Linked DNA regions of Homo sapiens: region 1 is linked to region 2. Evidence: promoter capture Hi-C in 16 types of primary human blood cells and fetal thymus (Javierre and others, 2016). All regions are on one chromosome and are shown on one strand. The core of a region is centred on a gene start or on the middle of the fragment in contact, and the rest is flanking DNA. Distances in the headings are between cores, read along the strand shown.

Region 1 (7,423 bases), core at 106-2,605, 2.0 Mb before region 2:
GAAATTAATGTCATTAGTATTCAAACTAAAGTTTATCTTGTGTCACAGAGTATGGAAATAATTTCTTTACCCAACACATATTTATTGAGCACCTACTTTGCACCAAGGACGGTCTAGGCACTAAAGCTATAGCAATATTTAAAACAATGTCCCTACTTTCTTGGAGTGCATACATGGACACGCGCACACACGCACACACACATTTCATATTCTATACCCATATTTTGGCTAATTTAATCTCTTCTTTGCCATTAGACTTTTAACTAGAGTTGTCCAATAGCAGAATAAACTGGTTTGTTGGAGATACCATCATGATGTAGTGGTTTGCAGGAAATCAAATAAGCAAAGATAGGAACATTTTGGGGAAGGAGCAGTAAGCTGGCCAACATTCTACATTTAGCTGCAAATGCAGTTTTCAAGCATTCTTTGGGACAGAGGTGTGGGAGCTAGAAAAGAAAAGGATGTGGTCATAGGAACTGCAGGAATACCACATCTACCGTGCTCTTTCCGGCAAACACAATATGTACATTATAAGCTACAGAGCATACACTCCTTTAAGAGAAAATCACTGCTCTATTAGATTTTGATTTTTGAGTAACAGTTGCCCACCTGATATAGAAGGTGAAAGACAAAGTGTATTTATTTTCTTCCAGCAGCTAAAAGGTGATCATACTTCTAAAATTTGTTGAGATTGTCCAAGAAAGTGTGTAAAATCCTCATCCATCACTGGAAGCCTCTGGTCAGAAAATGACAGTGCAGTAAATATCTTCAGCAGCCACCTTTTAATGTACAAGCTGTTTTCAGTTGGAATTTTCAGCACTCACATAAAACACACTGTCATGAGTGACTGCTTGTGCTCCAAAGTCATTACTATTGGGACAATGGAACATCTCTCAGAGAATAACCAAAAAACTTTAAATGTCATGTCAGGTTTGTTGAAGCCATTTTCAAGCCCCATTCAAGGTTACATGAATATTGAGGGTGTCTGTTTTTTAAAAGTCATCATTACCATCACTTACCAATAAAAGAATGTATGTGTGTATGTATATATGTACATGCATGTATGTATAGATGTGTATATACTTGACAATTACATATAACATTCTGGTTTGCTAGGAAGTTTTAATTATTTGCTTGCCAAGTTCATTGTTTCTTTAAAGGAAAATAATCGACTTTTTAAATTCTTATTAGAAACTTTCCTTCTTGATTTCATTCAAAAAGGAAATTAATCTCATTATTATTCAAGCTAATGTTTAATCTTGTGTCACAGAGTGTGGAAATTATTTATTTATCCAACAAATATTTATTGAGGACCTACTTTGCACCAGGGCCATTTTAGGCCCTGAAGTTACAGCAGTATTTAAAATAATGTCCCTACTGTCTTGGAGCACACATTCTAGTAAGACAGACAATGGACAAGTGAGCAAATATATTGTGTGTCCAGCCATCATGTGCCCTGTGAAGGAAAACATGACGGGGAAGGATAGAGCAGTGCAAAGGGCAAATGCTATTTTAGATGGGTGGCTAGGGAAGGCCTCTCTTTTTAGGTGGTGTTTGAACAGAGACCTGAAAGAAATATGGGACCAGGCCCTGATAATAACCACGTGACAGGCATGTCAGGCATAAAGGAAGAAGGAAATGGGCATTAGTGCTAATGAAACGGTTGGCTGTTATATTTTAGTTTATTCTTAAACCCCTGTGTGATTATTTTAAACCTGTCTTACTCTGTTGACTGTTTCTTTGTTTAGTCTATCTAAGAAGACTACTTATTTATTGAGAATAATTATTTTAAATGTGTTTCATAACGTGCACAGTCCTTGGTTATCATGGTGATAAGTTTTATGTTTCTTTTTTCCTTACTGTAGAAAATCAGAAAGTGCAGTTGACAGAAGGGTCACGTTCACACTACAATATCAATTGCAACTCAACAAGGACTCCAGTCGCCAAGGAGCTTAATTATAATCTAGACACTCATACGTCTACTGGGAGGATCAAGGCAGCTGAGAAGAAGGAAGCGTGTAATGTAGAAAGCAACAGAAAAAAGGAAACGGAACTTCTTGGCTCTTTTTCTAAAAATGAATCAGTTCCCGAAGTTGAAGCCCTGCTGGCAAGATTACGAGCTTTATAAGTTAAACTGGTTTTTAAAAAAAATGATTAAGCCAAATATAAAGCCATGCTCTAAACTATAACACTTGAAAAAATTGCTTTTATGTAAGTGACTTTATATAGTTTTAAATTATGATATATATTAGAAAAATAAAGCTAAATATATGATTGCAATGCTTTTTCTATGTACTGGAGGTTTTGGTTTATTCAAGATTGTACCGGGCTTTAATCCTTTTTTTTTTTTTTTTGTCTCCTGGTATTCCTCAGTTCTTTATTTGGTGGTTAAATTATACATATTGCTTTAGAGAGCAGGTAGGTGGCCATGTGTTCAGCAGTGTGTCCTTAAGAAAATACCATCTTTCTAAGCCACTGGAATTTTTACTTTACTATTTTTAACATTAATGGATGTCAGGTCATCAACCTCAAGTCTTTACATATCCATGTATATTCCATATATATTGTTTATATAGGCCCAAGTTTCTCCTTAATTGGGATCTATATACTACCAGCACAACATCAAAAACATGTAATTGAATACATCAGAGCTATATATGTAAGGAAATGACTGGTGACCCCATTATCATCATTGTTGAATTCATGTTAAGTAGACCCTCTAGGGGACCATAAGGCAATTGAGCACATAACGAAAAATGATGCAATAAGAATGTATGCACTCTCTTTGCCAAATGCATGTGCTTTTGTGTAACGTGGATGTAAACAGAATTGCAGTGCTGCCGAAATTCTTGATCTTGGCTAAGAGAGTATTTTTCCCCTTGTAATTATGACTCTGAGATAAAATTGCCATTTTGAAATTTCCAAAGTAACAACTTTTTTTATTTTATGAATAAACTTGGGATTGCAATTTCTCTGATCTGACAATCAATAACTTTAACAAAGATCTAAATAAGTGTTTCAAGGAAAGTTTTCCTAAGCAAATGTAATATTACCTCATTTGGGCATCATTACTCTGTTAATTCTATATCAAAGGAAATAAACTTGCTACTTGCACTAAATGAAAAAAAATGCTTTCTTTTGTCTCTCTTTTTTTGAAAACATTCTGTGGATAAGCTGAGAATAGACTGTGCTATGCAGTCTGTCTAAGCATCTATTTTGCTTTATTACATGTAATAAGTAAGTGACTGTTCTTTTACCTTCAGTTAAAAAGCAGTTATATGGAACTAGTCGGGCAAGGTCTATTGCTTTTTATTTCCTTAAGTTGCCACCTCCTTTCAGCTCTAAGTTAATAAAGTTAATTAATTAGAACTATGAGCCAGGCCCTGTTTATAGACATTGGAGAACAGAGTATTCTCTGTAGCCAGTGTAGGAATAAATGTGAATTTGTATGTATTGCTGAAATGTGCATTTTGCCATCCAGTTGCAATTCCTGTTTTTCTGAAAACAAACCTTAAAAATCAAGAAAGGTGAAGGACATTTACATATTTAAGCTGACGGCACCCCTAACAACAAGGCAGGATTGTTTTGTTTAGGAAAGAATTTAAATGAAAGAACTCTCACTATCAGTTCTTAATGTGATTTTGCAGACTTGGGTTTTTCAGAAACAAAACTTAAATTCAACTAGATAGTTTGGGCACACCAGGAAGCAGGTAAAAACTCTGGAAACTTGGGACCGGGGAGCAGCCACGGGGGAGAAGAAGCCCGGCAAATAAAGGAAAGTGAAGATGACGGAGACTCCGAGGGGCAGAGGAAGGCAAGGAAGTCCAGAAATGGAGCAGTCAAGCCCCAGAGCGTCTGTCTGCAGGGGCTGAGGACAACTTTCAAGCAAGAGGGCCAGGAGCCCAAGGCTAGCAGAGTATCAGAAGCGTCTGGCCACCCACAGGTCAGCAGCCAGCACTCTCTCTCCCTTGATGACAGCAGCTGGCTCCAAAAAGGACCATAGCTGTGGAAAGGAAACCTCTAAATGTCTGATAAAGGTGAGTACCAACTCAAGGAACGATCATTTGGAGATACTTTTATTGGTAGATGCCCTTTCAGCAATGGGCTAGAGGTATGATTAGGGTTTTAAAATGCATGATATTTCCTTAGCCAAACCATAGCATTGACCTTTAATTTGAGGGCAGGAGTTGAGGTACAATTTTATTTTTTTGAATAAGCAGTTTGTTCATTTGAATGAGCCAGTATAATGATTAATTTTTTTTTTTTTTTTGAGACAGAGTCTGTCGCCCAGGCTGGAGTGCACTGGTGCGATCTCTGCTCTCTGCAAGCTCTGCCTCCCAGGTTCACACCACTCTCCTGCCTCAGCCTCCCGAGTAGCTAGGACTATAGGCGCCCACCACCACGTCTGGCTAATTTTTAGTAGAGACGGGGTTTCACTGTGTTAGCCAGAATGGTCTCGATCTCCTGACCTCGTGATCCGCCCGCCTAGGCCTCCCAAAGTGCTGGGATTACAGGCATGAGCCACCGTGCCCGGCAGATGATTAATTTTATGTGTCAACTTGACTGGGCTAAAGGATGCCCCAGACAAGCGGTACGGTTTTATTTCTTATTGTGCCTGTGAGGGTGTTTCTGGAAGAGATTTGCATTTGCATACATAGACTGAATAAGGAAGATAGCCCTCCCACTGTAGGTGGGCATCATCCAGTCTCCTGAGGGCCAGAATAGAACAGAAAGTGGAGAAAGTGTAAATCTGCACACTCTACTTCAGTTGCGACATCGTCCTCTCCTGCCCTTTCTCATCGGCCTTCCCGGTTCGTGGACCTTTGAACTCAGACTAGGATTTACATCACGGGCTTTTCTGCTTCTCAGGCCTTTGAGGTTGGACTGGAATTACACCTTCAGCTGGCAGATGGCAGATGGTGGGACTTCTCAGCTTCCAAAAAATCACCTGGTCCAATCCCTCATTATAAACCGTGCACTCTCCCTCTCTCTCTTTCTTTTGTCTGTCTCTCTAAGTGTGTGTGTGTGTGTGTGTGTGTGTGTGTGCATCTTGACAAGGATGTTCCATCCAGGCCAGTGACAAACCCCATGATATGGTTTGGCAGTGTCCCCATCCAAATCTCATCTTGAATTGTAGCTCCCATAATTCCCATGTGTCATGGGAGGGACCTGGTGGGAGGTCTTTCTTGTGCTGTTCTCATGATAGTGAATAAGTCTCATGAGATCTGATGGTTTATAAAGGGGAGTTCCCCTGCACAAGCTCTCTCTTGCCTGCCACCATGTAAGACATCCCTTGCTCTTCTGCCATGATTGTGAGGCCATGTGGAACTGTGAGTCCATTAAACCTCTTTCCTTTATAAATTACCCAGTCTTGGTTATATCTTTATTAGCAGAGTGAGAACAGACTAATACACCCCTGATCCCAGAAAGATCATTGTGCCCTTTCTCATGTTAGTGTAGAGAATTTGGCTGGAACACACAGACAATTGGGTGGTCATTGAGTTGTCCTAGAGCAATGATCCACTGCTAACAAGTTTTCCCCAACAAATATTTAAAGTAACTTAAAAATAATGGAAGTAATCTCATTACATGAGCTTGTATCTCCTTTATTGTTAACATATTTGCATATTTAAACAATATATCAAAGACACCTAGTTTTTATATGCGGAAGTGGGTATTTCAATAATTCATATCAAAATTTTCTGGTAAATCTAAAAAACACAATTTACAACAAGTTGCTCCGAAACTCTTTTAGTTGTTAATATACTATTTACTCAAAAACAGGAACGATTAATGACATTAAAATGATAGTTTACCCAAAAGTGATTATTTCTTGGGTGATTCATTTTTATTTTAAAATATCATAATCTGAAGTAGATCTTCATTTAGCTAGAAACTAAATTATTTAGGCTATAACATACATTTGTGCTAGATTTCCTCTGATTAATTAAGCTTTCTTTGATATGTAAACACATGTAGACTGGAAATACTTTTGGTGATAAGTTGTGTGGCAAACTTTTGTAGGGACTGTGTGACTTTTGGAAAGTAATAGGTCCTAATATGTGAACTGCTAGTTTGATTGAAAACCAAAAAAGTGACATTTATTTTCTTTGCCTTTCATATAAATTATTTAAAATGTTGAAATGTAAGAATTGTAGCTGGCAGTGACCTGGTAATCATTTTTGTCTGGTGAATTCTTAAATGGTAACCAGGCATGAGTGTTCTTAAAATATGTCCTAGGGCCACATTGTTCAACCGTTTTGCTCGAAAAGCTACTGTTTAGCAAAACACGTGGAGTTCCCAAAGACCCACAGAGACCGGATGGCATTTCAGAATTGAATCCAGATCTTTCCATAAAATGAAAATAACGGAACCTTGATCCATGAAAGTTCATTATTCCTAAGCAGACCTTTGCCTTTTAAAGTGGATCTAAGGAGAAGGTTAAAGCTAGAATGGAGGATAGGGCTTGAAGTAGAACAAAATGTCCTCTAATTAGGATTCAACTATAGAGGCCTCTTTGTCTCCTATTCAGCTAGTTATATTTGAGTGTTGTATTTTACTTCAACAATAGTCTCCCTTTAGGCATCTCCAAGAAGCAAGAACTTAAAAGGAACCTTGGTTTCTTTCAGAAAACCTCTAAAATGATAGATGTTATTCTTCTATCCATTTTGAAACCCCAACCATTGGACAAAAGATGTTTTAAAAGCTCCAGATATTGCCTTCTTACATTGATATTATCAACATTCATCGTGTTCCTATGGATCTACATTATTACAGGTTTCTTATTTGAAATCTCATTGTTGAAAAAGCATTCTAATGACAGAATTGGAAACCAACTATCTGGATTATCTCTTCAGGACAAATCACTCACTTTCATTTACAACAGCTTTTTAAAGTATTTTAGTAAGTTTCTGTTGTGTTACTTAACTTTTTTTTAGCAGTATTTAAAGGTTAAGACTTCCCATTTTTATCTTGACATTTTTATCTCATGTTATATTTGGACTGTAACCTCATTAGTAAAAATTTATTTTTTCTCCTTATTTTCTAACTAAGGGTTACTAGCATTTATTTTAAAGATGAATGTCCAATCAGAATCTATCTAATCTTAATATTTTATGTATAATGTGAGTTCATGTGATTGATGGTCAAACATGAGGCCTATTGTAGGAAGCTATAATAAAATAATTAGATTAAACAGATTAAAACAAATGTTCTGGTTTCTTGAGAGTGGGACTAAGTCTTCAGATATGTATATTCCAGTGGATTTCTACCTAAAGTATCTGCTTTCTCACAGACATGACTGGTTCTGGTGGAGAATGTTCATTTATGCATCAAAAAAATAGAAGATTGACTATAAATATTTAATGTGTATTTAGTTTAATACACGTAATAGCCATAAAGGCAAATATAGTTAGGTGCAGAT
Region 2 (6,792 bases), core at 1,189-3,688:
GGTCTGCTCGAAGTTAAAGGAGCGCAGGGCGTAGATGGCCCCGTTCGTGGGATTCACAGACACATAGGTGTAGATAGACACGTCGCCGATGTGCGAGGGCAGGATAGAGTAGGATACGGTGCCGTTCTGGCCCAGGTCGGGATCCTGGGCGAGCACAGAGCCCAGGTACTCTCCCGGGATGTTGTTCTCGTGCACCTGAAGCACGTAGAGCCCTTTGGTGAACCGAGGCGGGTTGTCGTTCTCGTCTAGAATCTTGATCGCGAACGACTTGGTGGAGTTGAGGGGAGGAGAGCCCCCGTCCCGCGCCACGATGGTCACGTTGTACTCGTCTTGTGTCTCGCGGTCCAGCGGGCGGTCAGTCACCACCGTGTAGAAGTTGTCGTAGTTCTCCTCAAGCTTGAAGGGGACGGAACCCCCGGGCCCGCCCAGGCCCCCGCCGCCGCCCGTCCCTCCTCCGCCTAGGACCCGACACTGCAGCTGTCCGTTCTTGCCAGAGTCCCGGTCAGTGACCCGCACCAGGGCGATGACGGTGCCGGGAGGGGCGGCCTCGCTCAGCGCCCCCTGGCGCACGGAGACGAAACCGATGGACGGCGCATTGTCGTTGCGGTCGATGAGCTTGACCGTGACTTTGCAGTGGGCTGGGATAGGGTTAGGCCCCAGGTCTCGGGCCTGCACGTCAATCTCCAGCATCCCGTTTTCCTCATAGTCCAGATTGCCCTTCACACGGATTAGGCCGGTCTTGGGGTCGATGGAGAAGAGCTCCCGCACGCGGTCAGGCACGTAGCTGCTGAAAGAGTAGAGCACTTCACCATTGGGACCTTCATCGGCGTCGGTGGCGTTCAGATCGATGACCACTGTACCCAGCGGAGCGTTCTCGGGCAGTTCCACCAAGTAGGATGGCGCCTCGAAGACCGGGCTGTTGTCGTTGGAGTCAATCACCTTCACGTTGATCTGTACGGTGGCGGAACGTGGAGGCTCGCCACCGTCCAGGGCAGTCAGCACGAGCGTATGGTGATTCTGTTGCTCGCGGTCCAGAGCCTTCTGGATGACCAGTTCTGGGAACTTGGTGCCGTCGCCGCGGGACTTAACGTCCAGTCCAAAGAGGCCGTGATCGTCGCGCGTGAGCAGGTAGGTGCGGAGCCCATTCTCGCCGGCGTCGGGGTCATGTGCGCTGGTGAGGGGGAAGCGGGTGCCCGGAGCAGCGTTCTCCGAGATGTCCATTTCGATCTGGTCCGAGGAGAAGGAGGGCGCGTTGTCGTTGATGTCCTGGATCTCTACCTTGATCATGCAGATCTCCTTGTCGTTGGCGAACACCTCGAGGGACAGCTGGCACTTGGCATTGTGGCGGCACAGGGACTCGCGGTCGATGCGCTGCTTGGTGTAGAGGAGCCCGCTGTCTGCGTCCACGTCCAGCAGGTGCGGTGCGGAGTTCTCCAGCACCCGGTAGCTACCCGACTTGCTGCGCCCTCCGCCGCCGCGCTCTGCAGGCGGAAGCCCAGGCTGCAGTCGAGCATCCCTGCCGATGTTCCCGATCACCGTGCCGGCCCCTTGCTCCTCCGGCACGGAGTAGTTGAGGTTCTTGAGAGTGAGGGCAGGGGCCCATAGAAGAAAGCAGCAACAGATGGAAAGGTACATCCCAGACCTGTAAGGTGGGGGCAGGAGCAATCGGACTGGAGGAGCCAGAGAGGGAGTGCGCGCCAGCCTGGGGCCCTGGCGCAGCGTGCGCGCGCGACGCGAGCCACAAGTCTATGGGTCCTTTTTTCCCTCTGCACCCGAGCTGCGGCACCCGGTGGTCTCTCCTTATTCTGCTCAAGTTCCCTGAACCTGTTGATCTACAGCATCCGCACTGGGTGAGAAGCTGCGGTGCAGCAGAGCTGCAGGGGCTTGGAGCAAGGCGGTGGCTTCCTGCGGCTGGGGGTGAGCCAGGGGTTTCGTCTCTCCCGCCCGGACTTCGGGAGGCTCAAACTTGAGCGATGAGGCAGGCGATAAGAAGGAAATCTCGTCTGGGAGAGATGATAATGAGCTAAAGAATCAGTAGGTTTTCCTCGCTCCCGCTAGGGTGCTGCAAATCTACTCCCGCCCGGAGACTCCGGAATACTCTTCACATCGAGTGGGGGAGGGAGCAGGGAGGTGTGTCTCTAGGCAGATCCGAAAGTGAAATTCTTACTTGCTGCTCGCCTCCCGTGATGAAATTGATGGGGATGAAGAGCAACGAAGACAGAGTCACAGATATATTTTGAAGCTTCCCCAGCGCACCGTGAAATGTCTGCTTGCTGCGCGGGCCGGTCTGTTTTCAGGCAGTGTTTTGCTGCATTTAGAGATCTAATCTTGCATTGCTGGCTGAGGCAGCGGCGGCGGCGGACTGCATCTACCAGCCAAGCGTATTTTTTTTTTCCTCTCTCTCCTTTCCGAGCAGCCAAAGGGAGGGGAGGAAATGCAGCGTAAAGAACTAGTGTCCCGATTTGTAGTTTCCTCTCCCCACCAGGCTCCTCCCTCTCTTCCTCGGAAAAGGCTCTCCCCCGAAATCAAGAAAGCCACAGCCTGATCAGCATTTGCTGTGTGAGTCTATTGGGAGGGGGGAAGTAGAGAGATAAATCTTCGCCTCTGTTCGTAGAACACACTCTCTGATTTCTCTACGCCAAGCCAGTAGCCTCCGCTACCATCCCATCCTCTCCCCGCGAGCAAGGACTTCTCTCCAAGCAGTTTAATTCCAGTTTGCTTTTCTTCCCAGGCGAAGGGAAATCAACAGGCAACTCATGGTTGGACGTGCACATTTAAAGGAGGAGGGGGGAGGCCGAATAAAAAGGAAGGGGGAGCCTCCCTCCCAGTCCTTGCACACACACTCTCCCTGTCTCTCGCTAGAAGGGAAACAGTCTCTGCATTCACAGGGCTGGGCTGTCAAGTGCCTCTTTTCTTTCTATTCAGCATCTCCTTCCAATAGCCCTGCCTCCCAGTCCTCTTCATCTAGAAAAGAAAACCTTGGCGAGGAATAAAAGTGATGAATATTTGAAGCAAATAAAGTACGTGTTTTTTTTTTTCCTTCAATTTTCTCTTATAGTAGGAGGAGTGGGCTGGATGAAAGCAACACATCAAGGTTTGGCGTGATGCATTCTGCAGTCTCTCTTTCAGTTTTTCTGGGCGACTCAGGGAGGGCAGGGGGTGCAGAGCTGCGGCCGCGGCGGTCCAGCCAGGGGCTCCTACCCCGGGGAGCTCCCTCCGAGGGGATGTTAGACACAGGTCTGTCTACACATTATTTCGGGTTCTGGAGGCGCCTCGACATACGGGAATGACACATCCAGAAATGCAGGTGTTCCGATCTGCCGGATGAGTCAGAAGCAGCGGAACGAATCGTATTCACTCTCGCCTCATGGTCCTCCCTTCACAGACATTAGTTGCGGCTTCTTCCTAACGCTTTCTCTGACTCAGTCTATAGAAAGAAAAACCAGATTCATGTTTTTGGGGAAAAAGAAAATGCAAGAGAAAAGGATGGAGGGAAGAAGGTGAAGCTGAATCTAGCAGCACTTTTACTCTACCTCTTTCTGCCGGAGTCCGAGGTTCTGGAAAACAAGGCGTCTGCTTTGCTAGGTGTATTGGTTTATTTATTTTGTTTATTTTTTTTAAACCTTTCCTCTTGGTTAGGCGAGAGGTACCCCGAAATTTTTCAGAGTCTTGGAAAAGGAAAAACAAAATCAGGTTTCCAGTAATTGTTCCCAGCTTAGCCTCGCATCATAGTTCAAGATTTTCCTCTCAATTTTTTCTATTCACAAAGTCCAACATCGATGTGTACAGTTAATTGTGCAGTCTGTTGTGGAGGTTTTTTTTTTTTTTAATTCCTCCTTTTCTGTCACGGGTGGTCTCTTTCAGTCTGGTGTCTGCCGGGATCACCCCACAGTCTGAGAAAGATATGCGGATTTCAAAGCAAATAAATCCATCTCCGCAAGCAAAGCAGCGGATGAAAGGAAAGGTGAAAATTCAATTCAACAGTTGGAGTAGCGTCTCCCCAGCCGCCTTCCGCCGCTGCCGCATCCGCCGGGCTCGCGATCCCTGCTCTCTCCCCAGCGTCTCTTGCTGACTGACTCTATTCACCTCACGCCGCCGCTTAAACATTGATACTGATTCCCTGTCAGCCAATCCGAGCGAGGAGCAAGGCCCTGCCTTCTCGGCCCGCGTCCAATGGGAGGCGGAGAAGAGGATGGCGGGGGCGGGGCCAGGAGCCCCGGCTCTTCGGAGTCATTGATTAGATCAGTTAGATGGGGAACCAGTCCGGCTAGCGGAGCCCAGCGCTCCGCCAAAGCGGACGCGCCCCAGGATTCGCCACCAGGTCTCCCGGGCCTTTAACCACCGGGAGTAGCTCTTCCAGCGCCTTCCTTCGGAAAAGAGAATTTACAAAAAAAAGTTTAACAGCGATTTAATTTTTTTGTGGTCCTACATACACGGAATCGGGAATCGCAGTATGCTTGCAGAATAACGTAGCTGCGGTCTGCCTAAAGGGTTTCTCTACACACACTCTCACACACGCACGCACACACGCCCTCGCCGCACACACGCCCATGCCAAGGGAAGCGCAGCCCTGACTCCGCGTGGACCCATCTGAATGAGGTGCGGAGGAGTGTACGTGGGTGTGTGTGAATGCGCTTCCACGGGCTGAGATGTGTATTTCGGTGAGTGTGTGTGAATTCGAGGGCGCTCGTGAGCCCGTTTCTGCCCGCGCTGGTACGAACATGCCGCGAGCAACAGCAATCAATATGTAACTTTCTTCATCCTCTGAGAAAAATCAGCTGTCCTCAGGCACCTATGCAAGGAAAGTCACTTAATTATGAAAGTGTTTCAGAAGAAAAGCAGACTCCCGTTGAAAGAGAGGCTATGTCTCTTAAGAGAAATAGAGCCTCTCCTTTAAGGAGAAAGGCTCACTGTCAATACAAGCTTTGTAAACTCAAATCCGGCTAAATACTACTTAAGGTTCTACCCCTTTTGGTCATCCTTCCTCACCATCTCAGCCCAGGTTCAAGGTAAAGTGGATACCCACCCCCCAACCCCCGACACACACACACACACACACACACACACACACACTAGTTTCGGTGTTTTGTTCACCTCCATTCTTGTTATTAAAGTGTCACATTGCAATTTGATTTTTTCTCCTTAAGATCAAATAGCCATTGATAACCGCATTTGCTAAAGATCCATGAAAACAAAAGTATAAAACACGAAGGCCAATCATTAGGAGATCTAAGATTTCTGTTTTGTAAGCCATAACACACACACACATATATACACACACACACACACCACCACCACACACCACATACACAAGCACACATACACAGGCCGACTTCTGATTCATCTATTTATTCTCCAACTTCATTTACTAATCTCAGAGAGGTTTTTTTCCCTAAATATTATCACAAACATCTGCAACTGGAGACTGGTTTGCTCGTGATCCAGCCGTTCTGAGAAAGAGTTAAGAACAAAAAAGAAAATTGAAGTATTGAAATAGAAAAGGTGAGTGTTTGATTGCTAGAGTATTGATCGCAATTCATAAATACTGAAGTTGCCATTTATAAATTGTGAATGACTAACATACAAGTGTGTAACATGAATCATTCAGCCTTCAAAGAAAATCAAATCCAAACAAATTACAAGATAGTTCTGAAGATTTTTATTGGGATAATTGCTTAAAGATTCAGGTATAGGAGCTGTTTCCTGGAGTATTCAATGAGATAACCTATAGTCTGAATTTGCAGTCTGATCTGTATCAAAAATTCGCCATTCCCTTAAGAGACTCTGACAGTTTAAAAACTCAAAGAGAAGCTGTTTACAGCCAGACTTTTAAATCCTAAAGTGTCTTTGTATTTTCTAAACAGGTAGTTTGTCACGCATATACTATTGCTGAACGGGAGAGTCAGAGCTTTGTAGAAATCTAGATTGTTTTCCTGAGTGAGTACTTAACCATGCTGCCTTGGGAAATGCCAGTTTTATGTCTCTTTGGGGTTAATACCTCTGTCCCAAGGCACGTATTTTGGAAGCTGAAGATCAGAGGTTTTAAGGCTTTAAAAGCAGCAGCTAACTTGAATAAAGAATAGTGACTGCACATTCACTTATTATTACTTTTTAAATACAGCAAATCTATGTCTTTTTTGCATTACATACTAATTCAAAGAAAGTAATAAAATATCCTTGAGGTTTGTTTGCCATAAAGCAAAAACAAGAGAATGGGAAAAATTCCAAGGAAAGGGTATTATGATTTATCAATTAGACTTAATGAGATGTGCTGGCATGCAACTGAGAGTTGTTAGAAATACAGCTTCTAAGAGACCCAGTGATATGAGAATACATCCTCATAGAGATAAATTTGCTTACGACCCCTCCAGAGTAATTATGTCACATCGCCCCCTAGTGTATATAAAAAGAACTACCATGCTTTAGGTGAAGACCACAGCGTGTCTGACTGAAATGTATCACATATTTGTATTTTATTTAACCTATAGTATTAAATTTTATTGCTGAATACTGACATATACCCAAGGTACTTAATTTTCTTCCTTATGTCCCATACCTAGTTTATGTTCAAAGGGAGTGAAATTAACTGATATTTCATTTCCAATGGTTTGGCTTTCCTTTAACCACAATAATCACTCCTAATTTTTAACCATCTCTTAAGACTTGTATTTTTTCCCCAAACAGTTTTTTTGTTTACAACATAGTTATTGAGGAATGTATTTTTCACTGTGTTTAAAGTATTAAACTTAATTTTAAAAAGAGAGATAGTATAAATATAGCTAAATCGTTCAG

Evidence for each region. Contacts are between HindIII fragments. The CHiCAGO score rates a contact against its expected background, and 5 or more counts as called.
Region 1: a contact is called between a fragment that was not itself captured here and the fragment with the promoter of PCDH17 in region 2, in 1 of 17 cell types (endothelial precursors). The highest score is 7.4, in endothelial precursors.

What each region holds. Positions count from the first base shown.
Region 1 is chr13:59,661,289-59,668,711 of GRCh38, reverse strand. It overlaps DIAPH3 (diaphanous related formin 3), which reads left to right. Exons shown (of 28, transcript NM_001042517.2): 28 at 1,866-3,129. The coding sequence ends at 2,128. Among named protein-coding and RNA genes, the nearest start is that of DIAPH3-AS1, 350 kb to the left of the region's middle. The HindIII fragment of the contact is 9,199 bases long and covers 1-5,954 here.
Region 2 is chr13:57,627,390-57,634,181 of GRCh38, reverse strand. It overlaps PCDH17 (protocadherin 17), which reads right to left and starts at 2,438. Exons shown (of 4, transcript NM_001040429.3): 1 at 1-2,438. The coding sequence starts at 1,635. RefSeq lists enhancers at 1,252-1,931, 3,890-4,475. The HindIII fragment of the contact is 2,681 bases long and covers 2,245-4,925 here.